Linked DNA regions of Homo sapiens: region 1 is linked to region 2. The links are contacts of gene promoters, found by promoter capture Hi-C in blood cells and fetal thymus (Javierre and others, 2016). All regions are on one chromosome and are shown on one strand. Each heading gives the region's core, a stretch centred on a gene start or on the middle of the fragment in contact. The rest is flanking DNA. Distances are from core to core; before and after follow the strand shown. Region 1 has its middle 12 kb from the start of RNF187. Region 2 holds the start of ZNF678 (zinc finger protein 678).

Evidence for each region. The method cuts DNA at HindIII sites, captures the fragments that hold promoters and counts their contacts. A CHiCAGO score of 5 or more calls a contact.
Region 1: a fragment that was not itself captured here is called in contact with the fragment with the promoter of ZNF678 in region 2 in 1 of 17 cell types (total B cells); the score reaches 5.5 in total B cells.

The regions. Positions count from the first base shown.
Region 1 is chr1:228,497,736-228,500,780 of GRCh38, forward strand. No RefSeq gene overlaps it. Among named protein-coding and RNA genes, the nearest start is that of RNF187, 12 kb to the left of the region's middle. The HindIII fragment of the contact is 2,135 bases long and covers 189-2,323 here.
Region 2 is chr1:227,561,917-227,564,976 of GRCh38, forward strand. It overlaps ZNF678 (zinc finger protein 678), which reads left to right and starts at 1,640. Exons shown (of 4, transcript NM_001367909.1): 1 at 1,640-1,808. RefSeq lists an enhancer at 1,596-1,875. The HindIII fragment of the contact is 3,691 bases long and covers 1-2,171 here.

The DNA.
Region 1 (3,045 bases), core at 6-2,505, 940 kb after region 2:
GAGGTGATGGGAATGTTAATTGCTCCCCTGTAGTGACCATTTTGCTATCTGTTTGTACTTTGTAACATCACGTTGCATACCTTAAATATACACAATGAAATTTATTAAAACAATGAAAATAAAAACTAAGCAAGAGCCTGCCCCTGCTGTACTCAAGGCCCTGCAGCAACTCAGATTCATTCCGGGAAAGCTTCGCAGTGGCCTGGGAAGTGCTACATAATCCACCCCGAGCTCTTCCTCTCTCGTCACCACTGTGCCCCCTGCTCCCTGCAGACCCAGCATGATGGCCTCTCTGTTCTTCAGCAAGCCAGGTGGGCCCTGCCTCGGCCTCTGATCTCCAGGGAACATTTCTCCCCCATACCTGTGTGGCGGTTGCCCCTCTCCTTCAGGTCTGCTCCCACAGGGTGTTTTATAGAAATGGCTTGAAACAGACGCCCTTCCTCAGCCCTTGACCACGCAAGCTCTGAGGAGCCACTGGTGTCCCTGTGGCTTTGCTGCAACCAGATCTCTCTGGTCAAGGGCAGCCCTAGGCAGGAGGATCTCCGAGGCTGGCTGTGGGTGACATGTGGAAGGAAACTGAGGCCAGGCACTGCATAGAAAAGCAACAGTTTGTTTGCTGGAAGGTAGGGGACACATTCTCAAGACACTGATGTATTTGTCCAGTAGCTCAATACTTTTTTCTCAACTCTTATTTTCAGAGCTTTGTGGGAAAGCCGTGGATAGTTGGGACCCAAAGGTCGTTTTCAGTTTCAGGATCCTGTGGCCAAAGAGAGGAGATAAAAATGCTTGGGGCCATTTTACCTTCTACATTACCTAACTGAGTAGCTATTATTTCATGAGGTTGACAGCAGCAAAATATAAGGAGATGCTTAAACTATTTAGTAACTGGAGAATCATAATTAAAACCATAATGAGATACTGCTTTAGCTCGGGGTGGGTTGGGGCGGGGGTGGTTCGGGCGGGTGGTGGGAACTGCAGCACTAGGTGATGTTGAAGTCTGAGTGATGATGGCACATTAGGTGAGCCCAGAGGTGCTGTGAGGAGTGTAGAATAAGGCCGCTGCTTTGGAGTGCAGTCTGGGGTCAAACTAAAAGGCATACCTTGGAGAAACCATGGGTTTGCTTCTAGACCATTGCAATACAGCAAATACTGCAATAAAGCAAGTCCCATGAAATGTTTGGTTTCCAAGTGCATATAAAATGCTTTTATAGGCTGTAATGTAGTCTACTAAGTATGCAGTAGCATTATGTCTAAAAAAGCCAATGTATGTACCTTAATTTTAAAATACTTTGTTGCTAAAAAATGCTAATGATCATCTGAGTGTTCAGTGAATTGCCATCTTTTTGCTGGGGGAGGGTCTTGCCTCAATGTTGGTGGCTGCTGACTAATTAGGGTGGTGGCTGCTGGAGTTTGGGGTTGCTGTGGCAATTTCTTAAAATAAGACAATGAAGTTTGTCACATCAATTGACTTCCATTCAAAAGACTTCTCTGTAGCATGTGTTGCTGTTTGATAGCAGTTTACCCACATAACATCTTTAAAAATTAGAGTCACTCTTCTCAAACCCTGCCACTGCTTTATCAACTAAGTTGATGTCAATTCTAAATCCTTTGTTGTCATTTCAACCGTGTGCACAGCATCTTCACCAGAAGTAGATTCCATCTCAAGAAAACACTTCCTTTGTTCATCCATAAGAAGCAACTTGTCATCCATTCATGTTTTCTCATGAGACTGCAGCAATTCAGTCCCATCTCCAGGCTCCACTTCCAATTCTCGTTCTCTTGCTGTTTCCACCACATCTGCAGTGACTTCCTCCCCTGAAGTCCGGGATCGCTCAGAGTCATCCATGAGGGCTGGAATCAACATCTTCCAAACTCCTGTTCATGTTGCTGTTTTGACCTCCTCCCATGAATCATGAATGTTCTTAAGGCATCTAGAATGGTGAATCCTTTCCAGCAGGTTTTTAAAAATTTTCTCCCAGATCCATCAGAGGAATCATTGTCTAAGGCAGCTGTAGCCTTATGAAATGTCTTAAATAATAAGACTTGAAAGTTAATTATGGAAGTTAACTTGAAAGTTAATAAGACTTGAATGTTGTGTTAATGGCTATTTTAATATTTTAATGGACTTAAAATAGTAAACCATGCAGTAAACAGATGTGCTGTCATGTAGGCTTTGTTGTTTCATTTATACAGCACAGGTAGAGTAGATTGAACATAATTCCTAAGGGCCTTAGAATTGTTGTAATTGGTGAATGAGCATTGGCTTTAATTTGAAGTCGCTAGCTGCATGAGCCCCTAACAAGAGAGTCACCCTGTCCTTTGAAGCTTTGGAGCCAGGCATTGGCTTCTTTCTAGCTATGAGAGTTCTGGATGGCATCTGCTTCTAATAGAAGGCTGTTTTGTGTGCATTGAAAATCCGTTGTTAGTGTGGCCCCCTTCATCAGTGATCTTAGCTGGATCTGCTGGAGAACTTGCTGCAGCGCCTTCATCAGCTCTTGCTGCTTCTCCTTGCATTTTTATGTTACAGTGATGGCTTCTTTTTTTAAACCGCATGAACCAACCCCCGCCAGCTTCAAGCTTTTCTTCTGCAGCTTCCTCGCTTCTCTCAACCTTCATAGAATTGAAGAGAGGATCTTGCTCTGGATTAGGCTTTGGATTAAGGAAATGTTGTGGCTGGTTTGATTTTCTATTCAGACCGTGCACACTTTCTGCATATCTGCAATAAGACTTTCGCTTTTTTATCATTCGTGTGTTCACTGGAGTACTTTCAGTTTCCTTCAAGAACTTCTCCTTTGCATTCACAGCTTGGCTGACTTTGGCACAAGTAGCATCTTTCTGCTTTGGATGTGCCTTCCTCACTAAGATTGATCATCTCTAGCCTTTGCCTTAAAGTGAGAGGTGTGTGACTCTTCCTTTCACTTCAACACTTAGGGGCCATTATAGGGTCATTAATTGGCCCAATTTCAGTATTGTTGTGTGCCAGGGGATAGGGAGGCCTGGGGGGAGAGAGAGAGGCAGGGGAATGGCTGGTCTGGCGAGCAGTGA
Region 2 (3,060 bases), core at 390-2,889:
CGGGGCCCACCGCACCAAGAGGACAGGGAGGAGCCAACAAAGGAAAAGTCCTATGAAACGCACCACCAAAGCAACCAATCCAACAAAAAATACGTCTCAGGGCTCTGTTGGGTCACTCCGTTAGCCCTTCCACCCTGTTCTGGCCCAGCCCAAGCACCCTCCACCCTACCCTGTCCTGCTCAAAGGGGCCCTGTCTACCGGAGCAGAACACTCCCTCTCCAAGGCTCTATGGCTCTGTAAGTCCCTCATCCTCTCTCTTCTTCTTCCCCCTCCACCTCGTGCTCTTTCTGTAGCCTTCTCTCTCTCTCTCTCTCTCTCAATCCTGACTCACTCTGCCTCTCTATCACTGTCTTTCTCTCCCTCCGTTTCTATGTCTCCATCCCTCTCTCTTGCTCTCCTTCAAGCTGCCTGTGTCTGTGTCTTTGTCTGTGTGTCTGTGTGTGGGTGTATGTTTGCAGGAGGGGCAGCGAGGTGTGTCTGGGTGCGTCTCAGCCCCTCTCTCCCGGGATCCAGGGTGTGTGTGTTGGGGGGAAGCTGTGGAAAGGGTGTTGAAGGAAAGTGACAATCAGCTTCCTGAAGGGCACTGACAGGCCATTATTCCTGTGGCTTGGCAAATTTTCTGTTTGAACTTATTTCTTGTTAAGGGTCCAAGTGTACTGACTATGGAGATAAGAAAAGAATAGCTCTAAGTAGCTGAAGCTCTGTGAGGTACGGAAGATTTTTCTGGCCCAGAGAGACTTGAGTATGGGATTTGAGACACATCTCCACACCCTTTCCCAGGGGCAATTGTTTAAAGGTATGTTGTTCCTAACTAGCTGTCTCATCTGGAATTTGTGATACAAAGAACAATGTATAGCCAGTCAGTGACTTCTGGATTTTAATGTAAATTTTTGATGAAAATTTTAGGAACTGCCTCTTTTCTTAAAACCCACTTGTAATGGTTACTAGTTGGAATGTATAATCAGGGCAACTTTAGTCTATGCTCTCAGGTAGGTATCCTAAACATATGCTTTTGAATATACTTTTGAAAATAGATTCTGACTTTTTTATTATGATGGGTTGACAGGGGACTGGCCTGGGACACCTGCCTGGGTGTAAATACCCCAACCATGCGCTGCCCTGCCCAGCAGAAGAGGCGGGTGGACAGCAGGCCCCCTTTGGTCAGAAACACATGCATTGCATAGCTGTTCTGGACCTGGGTCCTGCTTGCAAGGACAGTTCCACAGGCGCACCGGAATGCGCCTCCCCTTTCCACCCGCCAGCATTCCCAAGCACGCCTCGGCTTCTGACTGTTCTGTGCTTTGGGAGGAAAACTCATCTTCAGGTTTTTCTCCAACAGAAGATGATGATGACGTTGTTTAGACACTCAGGAACAGAGATTGCAGATTGGCTTAAGAGTGCGCCCTTTATTAAAGATGGTATGCATGGAAAGACATGGAACAATTTTGGAAGGATACAAAAAAAATTGCCCATTTTGTTAATAGTCTCATTCAACCCCTTTGCTGACCTCATCTCCTGTCACTCATAACCAAAGGAGGCGGGTCCTGGAGCCCTGTCCAATCAGGGACATTGACGTGGGAACTGTCCAATCAGGAGCGCAGCTTGAGAGGCGGAGGGGGTTTCCGGGATCTGGCGGGGCCTTTGTCTTGTGCTCCAGCTGGAGCTTTGGTCCCGTATTCTCGGCTATTTATCCCCAGCTGCGGGAGGCCCTGGTGACTCTGCTGCTGCAGTGTCTGGTTTCCCTGTGACCTGCAGGTACTGGGAGTTACATAGCTAAGATGCCAGGACACCCCGAAAGCCGGAAAACGGTGAGAGTTCCCGGGAGGGTGTTCCAAGATGGCGGTCCGGCCTCCCGGCGTCAGCACTAGAGTCCGCGGCCCGGAGTCCCGGCTGGCACCTGTGGGATCTGTCACCTCTGGGTAGGGGCGGGGCCAGGCCGCCGCGGGATTCTCCTCCCATCACTGCGCCGCGGCTTCCGCCCCGGCCTCTCTGGGCGGCTATGAAGCCGCAGCCCCGCGGGTCCCCCAGACTGTGTGCTTTGTCCAGAGGGGAGGGTCATCGGGGAGAAGCCAAATCGGTGTGCGAAACATGCGTGGGAAGAGCTGTTCCATGGGGCTTATCTTAGCTGTGCAGTCCATCCTTTTTCCTGTGAAAAATGGAGTCACTTTTAAAGCTTTGAAGAGTTTGAGGAAAGGGAGTTTCATGAATGGGAGAGCGCCCAGCTATGGTGTGTGGCTTGTGGGTTTATGGAGGAGGTGCTTGAAGGAAAAACTTTTTTGTAAGGTGCATGAGGAAGCAAGCCAAATTTAATAATTGACGACAGTTACAGTCACCTTATTTGGACTGTCCAGGTGGAAATTTCCTGGTTATTTAATTACTGATTAATTGGAGTTTTGTGATTGGTTGAACTTGGATTTTGTTTCTACTTAAGGCAGTCATTAACAAGAAATGCATTTGAGCTATTAATATTCTTTTTCATGTAGAAACGCAAGACACTAGAGCCACCTCAGTCTAATTGCCTGCTAATTATTTTAACACTGCACAAGAGACTGCTTTTCCCCTGCATTTTCCAAATAACATGGAAAGCAGGGTCTTAAATCCACTCCTCTGTTCTCCCAGCCTGACTCTGGCCTGCAATAAAATACTAAATTTTCAGTTTCTTTCCAAAATTCATAAAAACCACCATCACCTCTTCAGTTCACAACACTGTCAGCTATTTGTCTTTTATTGCGTACTCCAGGCACAATATTTTAATTAATCATTTTTTCACAGAACATTGGAGGGCACTCTTTGTTGTTGCTGTTGTTGTTTTGTTTGTTTTTGTTTTTTCTTTAAGAAGGAGTCTCGCTCTGTAGCCCAGGCTGTAGTGCAGTGGCGCGATCTTGGCTCACTGCAACCTCTGCCTCCCGGGTTCAAGCGATTCTCCTGCCTCAGCCTCCTGAGTAGCTGGGATTACAGACCCGCGCCACCACCCCCGGCTAATTTTTGTATTTTTAGTATTTTGTATTTTAGTTTCACCATGTTGGTCAGGCTGGTCTCCAACTCCTGACCTCGTGATCC